Regions from separate parts of the Homo sapiens genome. Here regions 2, 3 and 4 are each linked to region 1. Evidence: promoter capture Hi-C in 16 types of primary human blood cells and fetal thymus (Javierre and others, 2016). All regions are on one chromosome and are shown on one strand. The core of a region is centred on a gene start or on the middle of the fragment in contact, and the rest is flanking DNA. Distances in the headings are between cores, read along the strand shown.

Region 1 (3,538 bases), core at 636-3,135:
ATATCAGTTTCCACCAGATTGCTTTGCATCAAATTATTGCCCTAAAAATTTCCAGCATGCTTGATTTATCATTTTTGATTCTAGAATATTTTATGAAAGAATTCAGAGAACGGATGGTGTAGTTAGTACAAATCTGGCACTAGTAGGTGTACAACAAATATTGATTACTTTTAATCTATTTACTACAACAGAAGAGTGCTTTTAAGTTAAAGAAATGAAATAGTAAGGAATACCATAACATATATTAATTCTTTTTCTCCTATTGTTATCATTCAATATTAACCTTAGATGTACACTCACACCTTCCTTGTCATGATCCTCACAAAGTGGTAAAATAGAAAGGGAGTCGATAGGCATAAATTGACTTGTTAAGTTATTTAGCATCCTAATTCACAGTTTTCACAATTCTACCTAAAGTAACTGATGTAAGGAATAATGAGGAACATTGTGGATAGTCAATAAATGTTTCTATTCTCCTTCCTTCACCTCATCCCATGCCTGCCTTGCTGGGGTAGAATTGCTCAGCTCCAGAGCCTCATAACAAATGCCTTGTTCACTATGGCTAATATGCTGGTTTTAGAGATGTGAGGAGGAATAGTAGTTTTGCTGTTAGTAATGGTTGCCTCACTGGGGTCAGGAAAGAGGCTGAGACAGAACATCTCATTCCACAGCCTAATAAAAGAATGAAACACTCTTTTTTTTTTTTTTACATCCCTAACTCAGAGTCAACGGATAACCTTCCCCTAATATCAACATGACAGTAGTAGAATTACTGAAGTGATGGAAGACAGGGAGGGGTTGATCAAGATTAGACATCACCGTCTAGATGTCTAATCATAAAAAGAATGTTTTTCCACTGACAAAAAGTTTACCCAAAGCCTCCTTCATGTCTCTGTTCCTCAAGCTATAAATGAATGGGTTTAGCGTGGGAATAATCACCATATAGAGAACAGCAGCCCTACTTTCCCTCTCTGTAGAGTAAGTTGATGGAGGAAGTAAATACACACCCATAAGAGACCCATAGAAGAGCAGAACCACCGTGAGATGAGAACCACAGGTAGAGAAGGCCTTCCATCTCCCTCCAGGAGATGAGATGACAAACACAGCCCAGAAAATGCGGACATAGGAGAAGACGATCAGCAGGAGGGGAACAGTGAGGAACAGCAAGCCCATGGTGATGATCATCAGCTCGTTTACATGGGTATCTGAGCAGGCAAGCTTCAGGAGAGCACTAGGATCACAATAGAAATGAGGGATGGCTTTCTGGGCACAGAAAGCCACGCGGGTCAGCAACAGTGTGTGCATCAGGGCAGGACAGTTGGTTAGCACCCAGCACACACCCAGCATTAGTGCACAGAGCTGGGGACTCATAGATGTGCTGTAATGGAGTGGTTGGCAGATGGCCACATAGCGGTCATATGCCATCACAGCCAGCAGGCAGTTGTCAAGGCCACCAAACATAAGGAGGAAATATAGCTGTGCAAGACACCCAGAATACGAGATGATCTGACTCTGGGTATGAATGTTGGCCAGCATTTTGGGGATGGAGGCAGAAGTGAAACAGGCATCAGTTAATGACAGGTTGGCCAGAAAGAAGTACATGGGAGTATGGAGGTGTGGGTCAGAGCTGATGGCCAGGATAATGAGCAGGTTCCCCACCATGGTGACCAGGTACATGCCAAGGAAGATGCCAAACAGAAGAGGCTGCTCCTCTGGCCACTCAGAGAGTCCTAGAAGGAGGAAGTCTGAAACAGTGGTTTGGTTCACTCTGCCTGGTTTTCCCATCCCTTGTAGTTCGTGTGATCTGCGCAGATAAAAACCTTCCATGTGTCAGTATTTATTTATTAGATCAATTTACAGATATGCATCTGTGTGGCCAGAACTGTGCTGGGAGAAAAAGAAAAGAAAAATAAATGGTCTTTGCCAATAAGAATCTCTGAATCTCACTGGGAATGCAAGGAAATACCCAAGAGACATTTAGAGAACAGTTAAGATAATATCCATTCAAATCTCAATTGTGCTTTGTATGCTATAGCAGAATCCAAAGAAAAGAGATTTGTTTGACCAGAGAAATTGGCATGGGCTATTTAGAGGAAGTGAGAATTGAGAATAGCTTGATGGCAAGATTAGAAAAGCCATTTGTTATTGTCAATTGGAAAGAAGATGCATGATCTCCATCAAACTCCTACCCCTCCTCCAACACACACACACACACACACACACACACACACACACACACACACACACTCAAGCCCTCTTTGTGGGGGCTGAAATTGACTTTTAAGACAAGATAGCTTCCTCCCCACTTGCCTTTCAGTGCTGAGAATTTGACCTCACCCATTCAAACCAGTCCTGTACTCTTTCCTAACTAGCGGCAAAGGATATGTGAGCTGAGGGCAGTAGGTGTCTGGTGTCGTACTCCCCCATCCACTGTTAGGATGTTCCCTCCCACACACACGCATACAAATAGGACAGGGAGCCACTCTCTCCCTTCCATCACTTCCTCTCCTTTATCCCTGTCCTCTTCCCTTTTTTGCTGCTATGCATCTCTATCTGCTCTGGGAACTGATATTTTAGTTCACCTGTGCCTTCACCCCTACATTTGTACTACATTTATCTAATATTTACTTTTAACCAGAGGGAGGGAAGGTGAAAGGTATCGCCCTGACTTTTTGGTTTGAAAATAACCAGTCTGTTTTTTTGCTGCCCTAGTGAGCTGGTAGGAGAAACCATTTCATATTGATCTTGTAGAAGTTTGGCCTTAGAAGCTTTTGTAACTATTTTAGTCCTCCATTTGTTCTTTGGTTCATAGAGAAGCTTCTGACCTTAGGCAGAGACTCAGCACTTTCCCAGGAAACTTTTGCCTGGTCACCTGATCATCGAACTGGGAAGGAAGGTGTATATGTGTGTGTGTGTGAGAGAGAGAGAGAGAGAGAGAGTGTATGTGTGTGTGTGTGTGTATGTGTCCTACCCCTTCCAAATCCTCACCTGTCAGATTATGGATCAGTTTTAGGCATCTTCAAATTCTCCAATTCTCTTCCTTGGATGGATAATTCATAATAAAAAACTCTGAGACCTTTCTGACTCAGAGGCAATAAAGTCGGGGTCTATTGAGTCCAGAGTTTATTAGAAATACCTGAAGTGTATGGCTCGATTTCAGCTTCCCCGGGCATAAGAAGACAGGAATATCTCTTAAGGTTATAAAGGCTCCTAGAACACCATCTCCCAATGTGCTCGTTAAGGTCGACCTCGGTGTCATTGTGCAGCCTGTTCTCCAGCCAACTCTGGCTGGATCCTAGGGGAGCTGAGGACCTCTCTTTCCCAGGGGTTAAGATCTCAAATGTGGGTCTCGGGAATGTGATTCTGAAGCCTCTTGCTGGCAATGCAGTGTACTTCAGCCTGACTAGCAGGTCACCTGGGAACTCCTGCCTATATGCATTAGGCAAGTCAGCACTTGTCCCATGTCCTAGGTAAAACTGCATTGAAGAAGAAATCAGGAGTATAAACTAAAACACAACTATTTCTGCTGGCGATTTCC
Region 2 (3,538 bases), core at 439-2,938, 230 kb before region 1:
TCCTCTTTGCCTGGAACCCATTTCCTCCTTTTGTGTTTGGTAAAAAGTTTCTCCAGTGTGAAGCCTTCCCTGATCTGTCCCTTAAAACTAAACATTTTTCTTGTCTGTGGCCTGCTGCACTGGAGCATACAGTAGTTCCCCCTTATCTATGGGGAATACGTTCCAAGACCCCCTGTGGATGTGTGAAATCACAGATCGTACTGAACCCTATATATGTGATTTTTTTCCCTATACATTCATATCCATGATAAAGCTTAATTTATAAATTAGGCATAGTAAGGGATAACAACAACAATAATAACATAGAACAATTATAACAATGTACTATAATACAAGTTAGGTGAATATGGTCTCTCTCTCTGTCCCTCAAAATATCTTACTTTTATATATATATATATATATATATATTTTTTTTTTTTTTGTTTTGTTTTGTTTTGTTTTGTTTTGTTTTTGTTTTTTTTTTTTTTGAGATGGAGTCTCACTCTGTCACCCAGGCTGGAGTGCAGTGGTGTGATCTCGGCTCACTGCAACCTCCACCTCCTAGGTCCAAGTGATTCTCCTGCCTCAGCCTCCTGAGTGGCTGGGACTACAGGTGTGTGCTACCATGCCCAGCTAATTTTTTTGTATTTTTAGTAGAGATGGGGTTTCACCACATTGGCCAGGTTGGTCTCGAACTCCTGACCTCAGGTGATTCGTCTGTCTCGGCTTCCCAAAGTGTTGGGATTACAGGTGTGAGCCACTGCACCCAGCCTGTTTTTAATAGTTTCGGGTCACAGTTGACTGCAGGTAACTGAAACTGCAGAAAGCAAAACTGTGGGTAAAGGGGAACAACTGCTGTACCTCTCTCATGCTGCTTCACCATTCTATTGCAAATATCTTTTACATGTGTGTCTCCTGTGAACTTTGAGCTCCTTGATTCAATATTCATTCAACAAAGTTTTATTGAGCATTACTGTGTGCTAAGAATGCCCCATAATTCATTTTTGTATCTCCAGGGTGAGGTATATAATCAGAGCTCAAAAAATGTTAGTTGAGTCCATAACACAGTGAACAAGAGTACAGACATTAGCAGCATGAACACTTGCTTTTGAGTCCTAGTTCCACAACTTTCTGGTGTGTAACTTCAGGCAAGTCACTTCACCTCCCTTAACTTTGGTTTTCTCCTTGCAAAGTAGGAATCATAATATCTCTGTGGAGGTTTTTAAGAGGCAATAGGTGTGCAGGAAGGGGCCCGGAGCTGAATAAATTCTTCTTCCCCTCCTTTTAAGAGAAGTTTAGATGTTTGGGACTTACCTGTGCCCAGTGAGGATGGTGAAAATCTCCTACAAAGCACAAATTGGATGAAAAATTTTGACAATATCACGTTGGTGAGGTTGTGCTTGTGGAAATGTAAACTGGGACATTTCCGACCACTGTGCACGCCCCAGTGTCTTAAGCTACTCAGTTTGCTATAACAAAATGCCAATAGACTGGGTGGCTTAAACAACAGACATTTATTTATCATGGTCCTGGAAACTGGGAAGTCTGTGGTTAGCATGTCAGCATGGTTGGGTTCTAGTGAGAGCCCTCCTTCTGGCTTGTAGATGGCCACCTTCCTACTGTATTGTCACAGGTTGGGGACAGAGAGACAGAGAAAGCTCTCTGGTTTCTTATAAGGGTACCAATCCCATTATCATAGATGCCACCATAATGACCTAAATAGTTTTAGACCTAATTACCTCCCAAAGGCTCCTTCTCCAAATACCATCATATTGGGGGTTAGAATTTCAACATGAATTTTTTGGGGATGTAAACATTCAGTCCATAGCACCTGGTAATTCCACTACTTGGTGTTTACTTTTGAAAACCCTCTCATGTATACAGAAGGAGACAAGGGAGCATGCATTCCTGGACTATTTGTAATGGCTAAATAAATGTTAGTCAAACCTAAATGTTTATCAGTAGGCTCATGGGAGTTAAACAGGAATGGAGTCAACCTCTATATAACAATATAGAGAAATCTCAAGAACATATTGAGATCAAAACATAATTTTCAGAAAAAATATACAGATTGATGAAAAAACTCATAACATATGTTTTTTTAATGTATGTGTATATAAGACATACTGCTGTCTGCTCCAAACAGAGATGGGGCTCCAGCTAAAAGACCTGAGGGCATTTCAGAGGATTCCATGGCCTTTGCCCCCTGCTATGTCAGAGCTGATCCTTCTTATCTTTTAAGATTCAGCTTAGGGGTCATCTTTATCTGAGCACCCAACTGCCCATCCTCTCATGCTGGAACTCCACTCACCAGTCTCTCTGCATCATATCATTATTCCATTGTTGTATAATTACCTACATGCTTATCTCCTCTCACCTGATCAAGCATCTTAAGATCTGGGACTGTGCTTAATTCACCCCTCTGTCCATAGGCATACAGGATTTTAGGTATCTTCCTCCTTCTCCTTGGTGTGTCACTGGTGGAGGTCAGACAGCTTCCAGGGGTACAGAAACAGGGAGTTCCAGTTCTACTCAACTACCTGTTCTCCAAGAATGAAGTCTGCTACCTGGCCGAAGTTCTGCACACAGAACCCAGTGGGTGGCCAACCCCTTTGTATTTCAGTCTGTCCACATGGAAAGCAAATGCAACTCACCTTTACCGAGTGAGGAGCAGAGGTGCTTTGAGTGCCTCTCCATTTCTCCATCTGTAAAATAGGGACAACGAGACTTCAGGACTTTTAAGGTACTTTGAATGTTTTGGGTACAAGTACCCACAAACTTCAGTTAAGTAGGTATTGTGGAGTGTGTGTGTTTGCACACACAAAACATAGAATTAATTCTCCATTAACGTCTCTCTCTCTCGCCTCACTACCCAGGAGGAGCAATATTGACGTTCTAGGGTTGTGTACGTCAGTGTGGGACTTGCTAATAAAAGAGGAGGACTCAGGTTTTCATAAGGAGCAACTTCTGCGTTTGCTCTTCGGTGCTAATCAGTGCTAGAAAGGATCTGGAAAACTTCAGGTTCCTGCACTTTTAGGTTCCCGGTTGCCTCTAGTTGACTCTCTTGTCTTTTCAAATCCTTCCAACATTCCTACTTCTGTCTGACTCCGTATTTATCTTTCAGTCCCTGGGATTAAAGCTTATGAAGTCTGTCTATGTATATATTTATGTATGCATGTATGTATGTATGTATTTATCAATCTATCAATCACTTAAATATCAATCCATTTTTAATTATATACTCAACAAGCATTTTTTAACTACCTGTTATGGGACAGGCACTCTATGAGCACAAGGGATACAGATGTCACTATAACACATCTGTTACTGCTCTCACAGAACTTTCAGGCTGGTGGGAAGAGAGAGCTCTCAATCAAATAACCACACACATACAATTACAAACTAACATATATATGATCTGAAGGAGAGGAACACATTTCTCTCTTTCTCCTCAGCTTACTGAATGGCATATGATGCCAATCAATGGAGTGATTGGTAGGCCATTGATTGATTGATGATTGCATGAACAATCTCATTTGATACCTATCACATCCTTATG
Region 3 (3,538 bases), core at 548-3,047, 200 kb before region 1:
TTCATAGATTGTTTGAGGATCTACTAATTGCAGAGAGGAGAGAAGGACTGGGGCAAAAAGACATTTAAAAAATATTGGGCTAAAAGTTATCAAATGTGAAGAAAAAAATCTATCCATAGATTTAAAAGCCTTAATAAACCCCAAGTAGGATAAACACAAAGAAATCCATATGTAATCAAATTGCTAAAAACCAAAAAATAAAACCAGTCAGAGCAAAAAGACGTATCACCTATAGGAGGACTAAAGATAAGACTTACAACTGATTTCTCTTTGAAAATAATGCAAGTCATAAGACCATGGAACAACATTGACACAGATTATAATCATTCTCTCCATTCTCACCTTCACTCATTCCTTAACACATCACAATCTGGCTCGTTTTCCATTTCTCCATTGCACATTCACCAAAGTTATGAATCACCACCATGTCACTAAAGCCAATGGACAACCTTCAGCCTTATTTTGTTAAACTGTCATCATATTTTGATACCAGTTAATGGCTCCTGCCTCTTCAAATTTACTCTTCTCTTGAATTCTATGACTACTCCTTTTAATTCCTCTTTGATAATGTTTTCTCTATTAGATTCTTCAATGCCAGAAATACTCTGCCCTCTTCCCTACTTTTTTCTTGGGTCTCATGCTACACACTCTTCCTAATTGTCATCACTTACTCTGATAAACAGGTAAAATATGTTCAGTGAACTGAATTCCCCTTATTTCAGTATTGAGCTAAATCTCAAATATTTGTATATATGTAATAAGCTTACATTGGAAAAACCCAATACATTTTTTTAAACTTTTTGTGTTTTGTCAACAAATGAGAGACCTATGGTATTATTTCTCTATTGTATTCAGCCAGCCTTCTGGATACCAATATGGTGAAACAAGGAGCTGGCAAGGAGATTCCTTGTCTACTCTCAAGGACTATGTAGCAGCATTTGAGACAATGTGACAAGATGTCCAGAGGCCTGTTGAAATCCCTCCCTGTGATTATATCTACCTTCATAATCTATTTATTTCCTCTTACTCATGCTTATTAGTGACTTTCTAGGTTGACTTCTGGACTCTCTTGATTGGACAGCAAAAATCTTACTACACTTTGTAGATACTCCTTGCTCATGGCAGTTCTTTCCTTCTGAAGAGTGACAGGATGTCTTGTGGGAAGTAGCTTCATATTTTGACAGAGAAAACACTCCAGCTCTGACTGAGAAGTTTAGGACTTACCTGAGGGTCAGAGTAGGAACTCTTTCATCCCAAAGTGCACTCTCGTGGTTAATTGTTATCTAGAATTTCCTTTTCTTTACACTTTTGGTAATATCTCTAGGATTATTCATAAAACATCTTTTATGATTTTTTTTTGCCATGCATTTGTTGAGAAAAAGAAGTCTGGGGCTGATGGCAATGTGAGATCAGAAATATCCATCTGACAAAGGTCAAATATCCAGAATCTACAAGGAACTTAAAAAATTTACAAGAAAAAAATAAACAACCCCATTAAAAAGTGGGCAAAAGACATAAACAGACACTTCTCAAAAGAAGACATTTACGCGGCCAACAAACATGAAAGAAAGCTCAACATCACGGTCATTAGAGAAATGCAAATCATAACCACCATGAGATACCATCTCATGACAGTCAGAATGGTGATTATTAAAAAGTCAAGAAACAACAGATGCTGGTGAGACTGGAGAAATAGGAACACTTTTATACTGTTGGTGGGAATGTAAATTAGTTCAACTATTGTGGAAGATAGTGTGCCAATTCCTCAAAGACCTAGAACCACAAATACCATTCAACCCAGCAGTGCCATTACTGGATATATACCCAAAGGAATATAAATTATTCTATTATAAAGATACATGCACACGTATGTTCATTGCAGCACTATTCACAATAGCAAAGACATGGTATCAACCCAAATGTCCATCAATGATACACTGCATAAAGAAAATGTGGTACATATACACCATGGAATACTATGAAGTTATAAAAAGGAACAAGATCATGTCCTTTGCAGGGACATGGATGGAGCTGGAATCTATTATCCTCAGCAAACTAACACAAGAACAGAAAACTGAACTCTGCATATTCTCACTTACAAGTGGGAGCTGAACAACGAGAAAACATGGACAGAGGGAGGGGAACAACCCACACTGCGGTCTGGGTGGGAGTGGGGAGGGAGAGCATCAGGATAAATAGCTAATGCATATGGGGCTTAATACCTAGGTGATGGGTTGATAGGTGCAGGAAACCACCATAGCACACGTTTACCCATGTAACAAACCTACACGTCCTGCACATGTATCCTGGAATTTAAAATAAGTTAAAAAAAAAAAAGTAAGTTAGTGTTCTCAGGACTAAAGAACTTAATTGGATTTATAAGTTAATGGTGGCATAATTAATGAATTTGTTTATTTAATGTATATGTAATATACATATAATTTATGAATAGATTTATTTAATATAGATATTCCTAACATTCTGAAGTAGCTAATTGAACTTGGTTGAGCATGAGAAAACTATGGCACATAAATTGAGTAAGTGGAAATGGTACATATCTTCTAGGCCAGCATCCCACAAACCAAATGATCAGTGAGAGATAGTGGTGAAAACCAGGTGTGCCTGTACAAACACGAAGGTTATTGCTTTGGGTTTCTTTCCTGGCTTTCTGGTTACTCCCTTATAATTAGGAGCACGTAGTGAAAGCACTAGCAGGGACCTTGATGTCGGAACCTAGGTGTCCCTGTATTTCCTTGGACACCATTCACCTCTTACTAAATCTTTAAGGCCAAAAAACTTGTATTCAGCGTCAGGTCCTGCCACACAAGCTTGTGACCTAGAAAAGCTGATGGTTGTGGGAACTTGATGAAATAATTGAAGCAGAAAAATCCCAGACAGTGTGTAAGTGTTACATTACTATTGTTATTGACAATAACACAATCCAGGAGAACTGATGAAGCAACTAATTCACACTGATGTGTTTGTATGTTAATATAGTTGGGTAGTAGTAATGAATGCGGTTTATCAAATACTTCTGGCTTTCTAAAATCTTAGAGGGACATAGTTGGATTGTGCCTCCTGGCTGCCTTGCGTTTGGGTGGGGTCATGAGAGGTGTTTTAGACAATAAGTTATGGTCATAAGAGGTGAGGGTCACTTCTGGGCCAGAGTTTTTAACTGCCAGTGTGAAACCTCCAAGAGCCTTTCTCAGCTTCTGGCAGAGTGATGATTAATGTTTTCAGTGGTGACTGCTCCACGATCTTGGGTCTCTGCATGTTGAAAATAAGTAGCACACTTACACTTTTCTATGGTGGACCTACAATGTGAATGAGAAATAAACCTTTGGTTTTAAGGTCCTAAGACTTTGAGGTTGATTGTTTCCATAGCACAACCGAGCTTTTTCCTAACTGATACATTAGCTTTTTCTAGGATACAAAATGCAGCTTGGTGAGGATGCTGGATGTATGAAGGGAAGAATTAAGAGGGAAGGGAAAAGAAATCGGGTACTGAGCCTTCACACTGTCATGAAACTTAAGTGTT
Region 4 (3,538 bases), core at 508-3,007, 170 kb before region 1:
AGAGCCCCACAAAGAGAGGAGAGAGTTTGGGGCAAAATGATATTTGAATAAACATTGGACTAAATTTTTCCAAATGTGAAGAAAAATATCTTTCCAAGATCCAAGAAGCTCAATAAACCCCAAGCCAGATAAACATAAATAATTCCATATACAGCTGAGCTATAGTCAAATTGTTAAAAACCAAAAATAAAATCAGCCAGGACAAAAAAACAATTTACCTAAGAGGGAAACAAAGATAAAAATGATAGCTGATTTCTCTTTAGAAGCAATGCAAGCCACAAAACAATAGAACAACATTGACACAAATTATAATCACTGTCTCCAGATTCTCACCTCCATTTATTCCTTAACATATTCCAATCTGGCTCCTTTTCCATTTCTCCATTGCCAATTCACCAAGGGCATCAATGACCACCATATCATTAAAGCCAATGAACAATCTTCAGGCTTACTTTGCTTATTAAACTTTCATCATATTTGGTCACTTATTAATAGCCCCTGCCTCTTGAAGCTTCCTCTTTTCTTGGATTCTGTGACTATTCCTATTAAGTCCCCCTCAATAATATATTCTCTATCAAACTTTTCAATGCCAGAAATACTTTTTATTCTTCTCTCACATTCTCCTCAGAACTCATGCTACACAGTGTTCCTAGTTGATATCATTTGCTCTAATAGACAGGCAACATATGTTCAATGAGCTGGATTTTTTTTTTAGTTCAGTATTGAGCAAAATCTCTAATATTTATGTTTTTGAAATGAACTTGCACTAAAAGGACTCAATACATTTATAATTCTTTTAACAAAGGACAGGCTTATAGTATTATTATTCTATTGTATTCTAGCATTCCACCTGATGTGGCAAGATGCTCAGAGGTCTGCGTAGACCCTTCTTCTGATTATATCTACCTTCAAGAAAGATTTTTTTTTCCTCTTACTGATGCTTATTAGCACATTTCTGAGTTAACATCTGGGCTCTCATGTTTGAAAAGAAAAAATCTTATTAAAGTCTTCAGATGCTTCTTACCCACTGACAGTCCCTTATTGTGACTTGGGGAAACTGGCATCATATCCTGACAGAGAATCCTCCAATTCCAACTGAGAAGTTTAGGATTTACCAAAGGGGTAGACTGGAAACTTTTTTTATCCCAAAGTGCTATCTCATGGTCACTTGTTATTTAGAATTTCTTTTAGTTTGAATTTCTGGGAATATCTTAAAGTTTTTCATTAAAAAAAATCGTGATTTTTTTTAGTGGCCATGCACTTGTTGAGGAAAAAAAGTCAGGCCGATCTCAGAACTGAAAAATAAAAGTTATGATTCTTGGGGTCAAAGGGCTTAATTAGCTTTAAAAATTATTGTAGGCTGTAATTAGTGAATTTATTTATTAATATATGCCAGGAATTCTCACATTCTAAAGTTGCTATGGCACTTAGTTGAGTATGAGAAAACTATGACATATAAATAAAGGAAATAGAAAGTAAATATGTCTTCTAGGCCAGCATCTCAAAATCAAGTGATTGGTGGGAGATAGTGGTAAAAGTCAGGTGTGCTTAAACGAATACAGAGGCTACTGCAAATTAGCTTTTCTGGCTTGCTGGTTACTTCCTTATAATTAGGAGGATTTAGTGAAAAGGGTGACAGGAATGGAACCCTGATGTTGTAGGCTAGGTGTCCCTGTGTTCCATAAGACCGTTACACACCTCTTGCTATATCTTTAAGGCCAAAAGACTTGTATTCAACTTCAAGTCCTGCCATTAACAAGCCTGCGACCCAGAAAAGCTGGTGGTTGTGAAAACTTGCTGAAATAATTGAGGCAGAAATTTTCCTACATGACTATTTTTATTGACAATAACATCATTAGGGAGGATTAATAAAGCACCTGATGTACATTGATATGTTTGTGTGTTAATAGAGCTATGTAGCAGTCATTAATGCTATTCATCAAATACTTCTGCCTCTCCATCTTAGAGGCACCTGGTTGGATTGTGCCTTCTGGCTCCCTTGTGTTTGAGTGGGGTCATGGGATGTGTTTTGGACGATAAGTTATGGTCAGAAGTGGCGTGGGTCACTTCTGGACTAGAATATTTAGTTGGCAATGTAAAATCTTCCAGTGTCTTTCTCAGCTTCTGACAGAATGATGATCAATGTTCACAGTGGTGCCTGATCTACCATTTTGGACCCCTGATTGGTTAAAATGAGCAGCATCCTTATATTTTTCTATGGTGGATGTTTAGGGAAAATTATAATAACCTTTAGTTTTAAGATCCAACTGGAGATTGTTTATTTCCACAGTATATCCTAGCTTATCCTGACTGACAAACATGGCTTTTTCTAAGATATAAAGGGTAGCTTAGTGAGGATGCTGGACATAAGAACAGAGGAATTAAAAAGGAATGGGATCACTCAGCCCTGGAATTTGAGGTACAGTGAGCTATGATTGTGTCACTGTACTCCAGCTTGGGTGACAGAGTGAGACCCTGTCTCTTAAAAAACAGAAGGGAACCAGCCTGGCCAACATGGCAAAACCCCATCTCTACTGAAAGTACAAAACTTAGCTGGGCATGGTGGCACATGCCTGTAATTCCAGCTACTAGGGAGGCTGAGGCAGGAGAATTGTTTGAACCCAGTGGGCAGAGTTTGCAGTGAGCTGAGATCTCATCACTGCAATCTAGACTAGGCATCAGAGCAAGACTCCATCTCAAAAAAAAAAAAAAAAAAAAAGAGGGAAAAGGGGTAGGGTACTGAGAACTCATACTGTCATGACACTTTGGTGTTGGGGGGTGGAGTAAATATTCTTTTTGGATCATTCTATCTGTTCGATTGGATTGTCCTTACCCTCAAACTGAATAAGACTCACAGGGTTTTTCAGTGTTTCTAAAAAATATTCCAAAATGTATTGCCTCTGTGTGCTTGGCTGGTTTTTACTATGTGAAATGCGTTGGCCATTTCCTCATCCTTTGGAACTTCCTTTGTCAAAATTCAGTCTATTTTAAGGATAAGCTTATGTCACTTTTCCAAAAAGTTCTTTCCAATTTCCTACCAAATCCATGTGGTTTCCACTTCTGAAGACTAACAGGATTTATAACTCCTTGACTGGGACCCATTGTCAGGCATATAGAAGACGTATTTGTAGAAAAGCTTTATTTTACCATATGGAAGCTAGTCTATTGAGGATAGCTGAAGTGGTTTTCCTAAAATATGGATTCCTATCAGTACCTAGCCTGAGATTAAATATGTATTTGGTCAAAGTCATGGATAGAATCTGAGTGTTTTTCAAAAGCAGTGGCAACAAAAGCCAAAATTGACAAATGGGATCTAATTAAACTAAAGAGCTTTTGCACAGCAAAAGAAACTATCATCAGAGTGAACAGGCAACCTACAGAATGGGAGAATTTTTTTTTTTGTGATGGTGTCTCGCTCTGTTGCCCAAGCTGGAGTGCAGTGGCACGATCTCGGCTCACTGCAATGTCTGCCTCCCAAGTTCAAGCAATTCTCCTGCCTCAGCCTCCCGAGTAGCTGGGACTACAGGTGCACACCACC

What was found. The method cuts DNA at HindIII sites, captures the fragments that hold promoters and counts their contacts. A CHiCAGO score of 5 or more calls a contact.
Region 2: a contact is called between a fragment that was not itself captured here and the fragment with the promoter of OR1N2 in region 1, in 3 of 17 cell types (M1 macrophages, endothelial precursors and megakaryocytes). The highest score is 7.8, in M1 macrophages.
Region 3: a contact is called between a fragment that was not itself captured here and the fragment with the promoter of OR1N2 in region 1, in 5 of 17 cell types (endothelial precursors, monocytes, M1 macrophages and 2 more). The highest score is 6.8, in endothelial precursors.
Region 4: a contact is called between a fragment that was not itself captured here and the fragment with the promoter of OR1N2 in region 1, in 2 of 17 cell types (M1 macrophages and endothelial precursors). The highest score is 6.7, in M1 macrophages.

Annotation. Positions count from the first base shown.
Region 1 is chr9:122,551,459-122,554,996 of GRCh38, reverse strand. It overlaps OR1N2 (olfactory receptor family 1 subfamily N member 2), which reads right to left and starts at 1,885. Exons shown (of 1, transcript NM_001004457.2): 1 at 783-1,885. The coding sequence starts at 1,785. The coding sequence ends at 835. It also overlaps a transcript of OR1J2 not described here and a transcript of OR1L8 not described here. The HindIII fragment of the contact is 1,550 bases long and covers 1,221-2,770 here.
Region 2 is chr9:122,783,806-122,787,343 of GRCh38, reverse strand. No RefSeq gene overlaps it. Among named protein-coding and RNA genes, the nearest start is that of OR5C1, 3.4 kb to the left of the region's middle. The HindIII fragment of the contact is 2,865 bases long and covers 256-3,120 here.
Region 3 is chr9:122,751,784-122,755,321 of GRCh38, reverse strand. No RefSeq gene overlaps it. Among named protein-coding and RNA genes, the nearest start is that of OR1L6, 11 kb to the right of the region's middle. The HindIII fragment of the contact is 2,066 bases long and covers 765-2,830 here.
Region 4 is chr9:122,726,221-122,729,758 of GRCh38, reverse strand. No RefSeq gene overlaps it. Among named protein-coding and RNA genes, the nearest start is that of OR1L4, 4.0 kb to the right of the region's middle. The HindIII fragment of the contact is 2,487 bases long and covers 514-3,000 here.